Linked DNA regions of Homo sapiens: region 2 is linked to region 1. Evidence: promoter capture Hi-C in 16 types of primary human blood cells and fetal thymus (Javierre and others, 2016). All regions are on one chromosome and are shown on one strand. Each heading gives the region's core, a stretch centred on a gene start or on the middle of the fragment in contact. The rest is flanking DNA. Distances are from core to core; before and after follow the strand shown. Region 1 holds the start of HMX3 (H6 family homeobox 3). Region 2 has its middle 98 kb from the start of CPXM2.

The links. The method cuts DNA at HindIII sites, captures the fragments that hold promoters and counts their contacts. A CHiCAGO score of 5 or more calls a contact.
Region 2: a fragment that was not itself captured here is called in contact with the fragment with the promoter of HMX3 in region 1 in 1 of 17 cell types (M1 macrophages); the score reaches 5.2 in M1 macrophages.

Annotation. Positions count from the first base shown.
Region 1 is chr10:123,134,450-123,139,329 of GRCh38, forward strand. It overlaps HMX3 (H6 family homeobox 3), which reads left to right and starts at 1,521. Exons shown (of 2, transcript NM_001105574.2): 1 at 1,521-2,001; 2 at 2,609-4,880. The coding sequence starts at 1,602. The coding sequence ends at 3,282. RefSeq lists silencers at 690-809, 840-969, 1,350-1,429, 1,480-1,889, 1,900-1,949 and enhancers at 736-1,686, 2,869-3,833, 4,874-4,880. The HindIII fragment of the contact is 8,924 bases long and covers 1-4,637 here.
Region 2 is chr10:123,987,342-123,992,169 of GRCh38, forward strand. It overlaps the pseudogene YBX2P1. Among named protein-coding and RNA genes, the nearest start is that of CPXM2, 98 kb to the left of the region's middle. The HindIII fragment of the contact is 2,575 bases long and covers 865-3,439 here.

The sequences.
Region 1 (4,880 bases), core at 271-2,770:
GCCTCATGGGCTTCTCGTGCGAACCGGGGAGCTGTTTTTAAAGCCAGTGGAGTGGAATGTCCTTTCACTAAGCCGTTCTGCAAAGGTCCAGTGTGGTTCTCTAAGGACTTCGCTGCCGTCGAGACGCGCAGCGGATGCCGCTGCTTGCCGCGGCGGAGGAAGCTACGCCGCTGCGCCTTCGGTTCACCTTGCCCCCATTAAAGCGTTAGTTAGACAGCTCCAAACGCCAGCTGGCCGGAGAGACTTCCTGGGAGAAAGTGCTGTCGTCGGGGTCACAGACTCGGAGTTGATCCGCGAGCCTTGGGCACCGGCGGCCAGAGCAGAGGGGTGCCCTTCCGAGAGCAGCCGTCGGTGCCGAGAAGCTGTTGCCCCAGCAGCCCCACCGAGTGACGCGCGGGTTTTGGCCGGGTCAGCGCGCATACGCACACAGGCACACCCACTCCTGGTCCCGGGGGAAGGCTCACTCTTCGGTTTTCCAGGGCTAAAGGCCAAGGCCACGCGGATTTCTGAGTCCGAAGACGCAGTGCGAGGACTTACACCTGGATTCCCTTACTATCGGCTGGATGGTGGGTGGGGAACCCAAATCCCTCTCTTCTTGGCCTCGCCCTTCCTAGCAGGCTTTAGGAAAAATACCGAGGTCGCCGGACCCCAAAGGGTAGGAAAATGATGAGTTCTCCGAGGGCCGAGGTCACGTCCTGCCTCTTGGGCCGGCGCTGCGTGGCTCTCCAGCTGCGTGGGGGCGGCGGGCCCCTGTCCAGCCCCAGGGGGCGGGGGAGCGGCAGCTGCGAGCGCAGATAACCCCGAGGTGACCCGGGAGGGCCTGGTCCGCCCCTCCCCCCTCCCGCAGGCCTGGCGGCGGGAAGCGGGTCCCTGCGCCGCAGGGGGGAGAGGCAGGCGCGGTCTCCGGGCTCGCGGCCGTTAGTGCGCTTCGGCCAAGGGCGCCGCCTGCTCCGCGTCCCTCGCTCGCCTCCTGCGCTCGCAGGAGCGCTCCGAGTGCCTCTTTAGCGGGAGCCAATATCCTTTTGTGCTAATAGGCTTGTCCTCATTTGCTGCCTAATTGGACTATATAAAGCCAATAACGGGCGGGCTCTTATAGCCCGAAGCCAAAGCGCCAAAATCCGAGGGAAGGCGAGGAGGGGGCGGTGGCGGAGGCGGCTGCGGGGCCGGGGCTCGGCTGAGCCTTCGCCTGCCTAATCCCATTTGCCATTGTACGCGCCCAATCGCCGTATACTCCCCGCATTTAACTTGGATGACATTTTGATTTCATCATTAGCATCCGGCGCCGGATTGACGCAGCCTCGAGCCGGGGACTGCTCTTGCTGCCTCCTCCGCGGGAGCCGCAGCCGCAGCCGAGCCGCCTCGATCCCTCGGTGCCGCGGCAGGGCCGCTCCCCGCCCCTCCGCACCCCTCCCTCATGCGAGCCCGCCCGTCTGGGTCCTCACTCCGCCCTCCCGCCGTTGGATTTGCGCCCGGGGCGGCCCCCGACTTTGCGCCCCGTAGTTGAGTTCCGTTTATGGTCTGATTTCCGGCCTCTCGCCTGCTCGCCCCGCCGCCCGCCTGTCCCGCTCCCTCCCTCCCGGGGACCCGGAGGAGAGGGGACCATGCCGGAACCCGGGCCGGACGCTGCCGGCACCGCCAGCGCACAGCCCCAACCGCCGCCGCCCCCCCCACCCGCTCCCAAGGAGTCCCCGTTCTCCATCAAGAACCTGCTCAACGGAGACCACCACCGGCCGCCCCCTAAGCCTCAGCCGCCCCCACGGACGCTCTTCGCGCCAGCCTCGGCTGCCGCCGCCGCCGCCGCTGCCGCTGCCGCGGCGGCCAAGGGGGCCCTGGAGGGCGCCGCGGGCTTCGCGCTCTCGCAGGTGGGCGACCTGGCTTTCCCTCGCTTTGAGATCCCGGCGCAGAGGTTTGCCCTGCCCGCGCACTACCTGGAGCGCTCCCCAGCCTGGTGGTACCCCTACACCCTGACCCCCGCCGGCGGCCACCTCCCGCGACCTGAAGGTACCGACCTCTCTTTGAACTTTCGTTGTCCCCCTGCGCGCCCGCCCCGTCCCCGCCCCGCGCTGCTTCCCTCCGCAGTTCTGGGACCCCAGCACCCGCAAACCCTCTGCTCGGTCAGTTTTTTTCGGCCCCTAGCCTGCCCTCGCGCTGGGTTGCGCTGCCCGTTAATCCAATCCCACTTGGTGAGAAAAGAAGTGGAATTGGAGCCCCGGGCACGGTGCTTCCCGGGAAAAGTGGCCTCGGGCGTGAATAGGGAGGCTTCGGACGGCCGGGGCTTGGGACACGGCCTGGAAGGAGGGGGTGATTCCAATGCGCCTAAGCCGAAAGGGAACCGTTCTGCCGGCCCCTGGCGAGGAAGCTGAGGGAATGGAAGGAGGTGGCCGCGCTACCACCATCTGCTTGCCTGTCCTCGGGAGGAGGGGGATCCCAGGACTCGGCGTCCCTTCTCTGGCCCAGCCGAGAAGGAGGCAGCCCGCGGGAATGGTGAGGCCTCATGGCCTGGGACCTGGAGGCCGGCGCGGGTTGAGCCTGCCGTCCCCAGGCGCCGGGCCTCGCTCAAGGCTGTGTCGGTGTGCATGTGTGTGCGTCCGTCTGTCTGTCTCCCCAGCCTCGGAGAAGGCCTTGCTGAGAGACTCCTCCCCCGCCTCCGGCACAGACCGCGACTCTCCGGAGCCACTGCTCAAGGCCGACCCCGATCACAAGGAGCTGGACTCCAAGAGCCCGGACGAGATCATTCTGGAGGAGAGCGACTCCGAGGAAAGCAAAAAGGAAGGCGAAGCGGCGCCAGGCGCGGCCGGGGCGAGCGTAGGGGCGGCGGCGGCCACTCCGGGCGCAGAAGACTGGAAGAAGGGCGCTGAAAGTCCAGAGAAGAAGCCGGCGTGCCGCAAGAAGAAGACGCGCACAGTCTTCTCGCGCAGCCAGGTCTTCCAGCTCGAGTCCACCTTCGACATGAAGCGCTATCTGAGCAGCTCGGAGCGAGCCGGCCTGGCCGCGTCCCTGCACCTCACCGAGACGCAGGTCAAGATCTGGTTCCAGAACCGCCGCAACAAGTGGAAGCGGCAGCTGGCGGCGGAGCTGGAGGCGGCCAACCTGAGCCATGCCGCGGCGCAGCGCATCGTGCGGGTGCCCATCCTCTACCACGAGAACTCGGCGGCCGAGGGCGCGGCGGCTGCAGCCGCGGGGGCCCCGGTGCCAGTCAGCCAGCCGCTGCTCACCTTCCCGCACCCCGTCTACTACTCGCACCCGGTGGTCTCTTCCGTGCCGCTGCTACGGCCGGTCTGAGGCCCCAGAGGGGTGGGGGAGGGAGCGCCCGGCCTCCTTGTCCGGACCCCGGAGGAGACTGGGCCGGGCCGAGGGCGCCGAGAAGTCCAGCGGCCTTCAGGAACTGGGGCTTGGGCGCGCAGCCTCTGCTTCCCCTCCCCCAGTCGGTAGCATTTTGTAAGTATTTGCAATGCATTTTCGTGCAATTCATCCCTAATGGATTGGAGGCGCTTCCCCTCTTACTTTTGGTTTTTGGCTTATATTAAGAGAAAGCAGGAACAAGACAAAATTTTCGGGTCAGAGATTTCGGCCGATAGTTTTTGTAAAATGTGCAGCCCTCCCTTCCAAATTTCCATTGCGCGGTGGCTTTTTGGTTTTATTTTTATAGAAGGAAAATAAGCGCAAAACCTAAATCCCTCTAGTTTATTCTTTTCTGCTTTTTTTTTTTTTTCCGAGACGGAATCTTGCTCTATCTATTGCCCAGGCTGGAGTGCAGTGGCGCGATCTCGGCTCACTTCGACCTCCGCCTCCCGGGTTCAAGTGATTCTCCTGTCTCAGCCTCCCGAGTAGCTGGGATTGCAGGTGTGTGCCACCACGTCCGGCTAATTTTTGTATTTTTAGTAGAGACGCGGTTTCACCATGTTGGCCAGGCTGGTCTTGAGCTCCTGACCTCGTGATCCGCCCGCCTCGGCCTCCCAAAGTGCTGGGATTACAGGCGTGAGCCACTGCGCCCGGCCTAGTTTATTCCTTTTCTATAGAACTGTTTTCAGAATCCAGAGAGGGAGAGAATTCATATGATAGTACTTTTATTTCTGGATTTCTGGGTATGTTTCTTCCTCCCAACCCCCAAATCAGTTATCCACCTTAATTTTCAAAATATGAGCAGCCTCTCATAAGAATCCCGACTCAGGCCGCTTTTCTCTTCTGGAGAGGTCTGTTGCAATTAGCCTCTTCATCGGTCTTACTTTGTGATGGAAGAATTCTCTAAGTGTCTAAAGAGAAAAGACAGCCAAAAATCAGAACTCTGACTATTTGAAACAGCTCCATATCTGGCCTGGTCTAAGTGGTCTTATTTATTAGTAGCATTTATTTTGAGAATTTCATTTGTAAATTATTATTAATATTACTATTATTACTTTGTTCCCTGTTTTGAGAGAGTAATTTCAGTATTTTTAATATGATATCTTTTATCCTCTCCTCTTACTTTTCATGTTCTGCAGTAATTATTGTACGTTGACCTGTGCAATATTGTACAAAATCTCCTGAGAAAGCTGTTTCCTCCTCCACCGTGGGAAACAGACCTTTTCACTGTATAATCATGGTCATTCATTTAGAAAGAAAAAAGTAGGCAGGGGAAAGGGGGGAAGAAAGAAACAAGCTTAGGTAGTGATGCTCAAAGGAGTAAGTTAGGCATACTGGAGCGCTTTAAGTGAAGGACAATCAATTTAGCAGAATTTTAACTTATTTGATAAATGTACAGATTTCTTGTAAAGTTCACCCTCTACTCCGCAGGGCTCCTGGCTCTGTCACCCAATCTGTTTTCTTTCTGTCGGTACACCTGTTGTTCTGTGATAGTTTGTTTCCCCTCATCTCCCTCACCTCTGCCTGGGTTGAGTCCC
Region 2 (4,828 bases), core at 902-3,401, 850 kb after region 1:
TAATTTTTGTATTTTTGGTAGAGACGAGCTTTTGCCATGTTGGCCAGGCTAGTCCCCAACTCCTGATCTGCCCACCTTGGCCTCCCAAAGTGCTGGGATTACAGGCATGAGCCACTGCACCCGGCCTTAATCTTAAAAAATCTTTAAATGGCACCCATTTTCCTTTAGTTAATAATGTAAAAAAGACTACATTGACATAGTTAAATTCCCAGGACCCTCAGTTCTTCAGGAACGGACTAAATGGCTGGTATCATCCTGTATTAGTCCATTGTCAAACTGCTATTTATTAGAAAAGAGGTTTAATTGGCAGGCTGTACAGGAACCATGGCGGCATCTGCTTCTGGGAAGGCCTTGGGAAGTTTTACTCATGGCAGAAGGCAAAGTGAGAGTAGGTGTCTTACATGGCAAGAGCAGGAGGGATGGTGGGGGTGGGCAGGAGGTGCTACACACTTTTAAACAACCAGGTGTCACAAGAACTCACTATCATGAGGACAGCATCAAGGGGTAGTGCTAAAACATTCATGAGAAATGTGCCCCCGTAACCCAATCACCTCCCACCAGGCCCCACCCACCTCCAACACTAGGGATTACAGTTGAACATGAAATTTGGGTGGGGACACAGATCCAAACCATATCACATCTCTTAGAAAAATGTCTTGAAGTTGATGGAGCTTATGTTGAGAAATGAAATTTATGCTTTAAATTTTTATCTTTTAATTCCATTTTTTCCTAACTTTTTGAAGTCCCCTTGTATTGTTAACTATAGTCACCCTACTGTGCAATAGAATACTATAACTTATTTCTTCTATCTACCTGTAATTTTGTACCCATTGACCAATCTCTTCTCATCCCCTCCTTCCCCTAAGCTTCTCCACCCTCTGGTAACTTCTATTCTACTCTGCAGTTCTATGAGATCAGCTTTTTCAGATTCCACAAGTGAGCTAGATCATGTGGTATTTATACCTCTGAGCTTGGCTTATTTCACTTAACATAATGTCCTACAGGTTCATCCATCTTGCAGAAAATAACAAGACTCGATTCTTTTTATGGCTGAATACAATTCCATTGTGTATGCGTACCTCATTTTCTTTATCCATTCATTCACTAATGGACACTTCGGTTGCTTCCATATCTTCACTATTATGAATGGTGTTGCAATAAACATGGAGGTGCAGGTGTCTCTTTGACATACTGGCTTCATTTCCTTTAGATATATACAGTATACCCAGCAGTGAGATTGCTGGATCATACGGTAGCTCTATTTTTAATTTTTTGAGGAACCTCCATACTGTTTTCCATAACAGCTGTGCTAGTTTACATTCCTCACCAGCAGTATATAAGGTGATATGGTTTGGCTCTGTGTCCCCAACCAAGTCTCATATTGAATTGTAATAATGCCCATGTTTCATGGGAGGGGCCCAGTGGGAGGTAATTGAATCTTGAGAGTGGGTTTTTCCCATGCTATTCTCATAACAGTGAATAAGTCTCGTGAGATCTGATGATTGTATAAAAGGGCAGTTCCCCTGCACAAGCCTTCATGCCTGCTGCCATGTAAGACATGTCTTGCTTCCCTTTTACCTTTCACTGTGATTGTGGGGCCCCTGCAGCCATGTGGAACTGTGAGTCAATTAAACCTCTTTCCTTCATAAATTACTCAGTCTCAGGTATGTCTTTATTAGCCACGTGAGAACAGACTATTACATAAGGGTTCCCATTTCTTCACATCTTTGCCAGTATTTCTTTTGTTTTTTGTCTTTTTGGTAATAACCATTCTACTTGGGGTGAGGTAATATCTCATTATGGTTTTTATTTGCATTTCCCTCATGATTAGTGATGTTGAGCATTTTTTTACACTCCTGTTGGCAATGTTTATGTATTCTTTAGATAAATATCTGTTCAGATCTTTTGCCCATTTTAAAATTCAATTATTTAGTTTTTTGCTAGTGAGTTGAGTTCTTTATATATTCTGGATATCAGCCGCTTGTCAGATGCATAGTTTGCAAATATTTTCTCCTATTCTATAGATTGTCTCTTCACTCTGTTGATTGTTTCCTTTGTTGTACAAATGCTTTTTAGTTTGCTATAATACCATTTGTCTATTTTTGCTTTTGTTGCCTATGCTTTTGAGCATAGGCAACAAAAAATCCTTGCCCAGGCCTATGTCCTAAAACATTTCCCCTATGTTTTCTTCTAGTAGTTTTACAGTTTCAGGTCTTACATTTAACTCTTCAATCCATTTTGAGTTGATTTTTTTTAATATGGTGAAAGAAAGTGGTAGAGTTTTATTCTTCTGAATGTCAATATCTAGTTTTCTCAGCACCATTTACTAAAGAGGCTGTCCTGTCTCCCAGTGTGTGTTCTTGACACCTTTGTCAAAAAAAATCAGTTGGCTATAACTGCTTGCATTTATTTCTGGGTTCTCCATTCTCTCACATTAGTCTATATGTCTTGTTTTTATGCTAATATCATGTTGTTTTGGTTACTATAGCTTTGTAGTGTATCTTGAAGTTAGGTAGTTTAATGCCTCCAGCTCTGTTCTTTTTGCTTAAGATTGCTTTGGTTATTTGGGTTTTTTTATGGTTTGGTACATATTTTAGGATTGTTTTTTCTATTTTTGTGAAGAATGTTAATTTTTTTGATCGGGATTGCATTGAAATTCTAGATCACTTTGTGCAGTATGAACATTTTAACAATATTAATTCTTCTAACCCATGAACATAAAATACCTTTCCATTTATTTGTGTCCTCTTCAGTTCGTTTCATTGATATTTTATATTTTCATTGTAGAAATCTTTCACCACTTTGATTCAATGTATTCTTGGTTTGTTGTTGTAGTTGTTGTTTTTGAGACACAGTCTCACTCTATTGCCCAGGCTGGAGGGGAGAGGCACTATCTCGCCTCGCTGCAACCTCTGCCTCCCGCATTCAAGCAAGTCTCCTGCCTCAGCCCCCCAAGTAGCTGGGATTACAGGTGTGCACCACCATGCCTAGCTAGTTTTTGTATTTTTAGTAGATACAAAACGGGTTTCACCATGTGGCCAGGCTGATCTTAAACTCCTGACCTCAGGCAATCCTCCTGCCTCAGCCTCCCAAAGTGCTGGGATTATAAGCGTGAGCCACCACACCCAGCCCAGGGATTGCTTTCTCGATTTCTTTTTCAGATAGTTTGCTATTGGTGTATGGAAACAGTACTAATTTCTGTATGTTGATTTTGTACCATGCAACTTTAATGAACTTATGAATTCTAACGGTTTTTTTGGTGAAGACTTTAGAAGATCACGTCATCAGCAGACAGAGAAAATTTGACTTCTTTCTTTCCAATTTGGATGCTCTCTATTTCTTTCTCTTACCTAATTGCTGTGGCAGGGACTTCCAGTACTATGTTGAATACAAGTGGTGAAAGTGGGCATCCTTGTCTTATTCCAGATTTTAGAGGAAAAGCTTTCAGCTTTTTTTTATTCAATATGATATTAGCTGTGGGTTTGTCATATATGTCCTTTATTGTGTTGAGATATGTTCCTTTTCACACCTAATTTGTTGGTGATTTTCATCATGAAGGGATGTTACCTTTAGTCAAATCCTTTTGTTGACGTTGATTGAGACGATCATATGGTTTTTCTCCTTGCAGAGTCTCATAGGAGTCCTCAGTGAAATGCAAGACAGCGCAGGTTCCTGACAGCATCTCTCCATCCAGGCCAAGGCAGACTGGCCGTCTCACAGCTGGATGGGGACACAGATCGAGTTCTGGCAACTGAAATGTGAGTGGACTTAAATGGGTCGCTTCTCAGCTAAGGCAATGGTAGTTCCCTCTTCTGGTGCATGGGCTGAGAGGGCCCCGTGTTCCAAGAGGCATAGCCACTGGTTGGTGAGGGGCTGTGATACGTGAACAAGCATGGGCTTGAGGGACTGGGGAAAGGGAGCGATTAAGAAGTGCAGGCCGGGCATGATGGCTCATGCCTGTAATCTCAGCACTTCGGGAGGCCAAGACGGGAGGATCACTTGAGGTCAGGAGTTTGAGACCAGCCTGACCAACATGGTGAAACCTCGTCCTACTAAAAATACAAAAATTAGCCGGGCGTTGTGGCACACGCCTGTAATCCCAGCTACTTGGGAGGCTGAGGCAGGAGAATCACTTGACTCCGAGAGGTGGAGGTTGCAGTGTGCCGAGATCAGCCATTTCACTCCAGCCTGGGCGACAGAGCGAGACTCCATCTCAAAAAAAAAAAAAAAAAAAAAAAAAAAAGAAGTGCAGCAATTAAGAATGAAGACATTGGGCGTCCGGGCGAGGCTCGGGGCGCGAGGATCGCGCAGCGCAGCGGGTTCGCCAGCCGGGGGGAGGGGCCGGGGCGGTGGCGGCGGCGGCGGAGGAGGCGGTGGCGGCGGGGGCCGGTACTGGACCCGGCGGGATGAGCGAGGTGGAGGCGGCAGCGGTGGCGACAGCGGTCCCCGCGGCGACGGTGCCCGCGACGGTGGCAGGGGTGGTAGCGGTGGTGGTACCGGTGCCCGCAGGGGAGCCGCAGAAAGCAGGCGGCGGGGCGGGCGGCTGCGGCGGGGACGCAGCCGCCTTGGACCCCGCTGCTGGGACCCCCTCGGCGCCGGGCCCCCGCACCCCTGGCAACCCGGCGACGGCGGCCTCGGGAACCCCCGCCCGGAGTCAGGCGGACAAGCCGGTGCTGGCAACCCGAGTCCTGCCTGGGCACTGCCAAACGGTTCAACGTCCGGAGTGGTTACGGATTCACCAACAGGAATGACGCCAAGGAAGATGTCTTCGTTCACTGGACAGCTGTTAAAAGAAACAACCCCAGGAAGTTTCTGCGCAGCGTTAGAG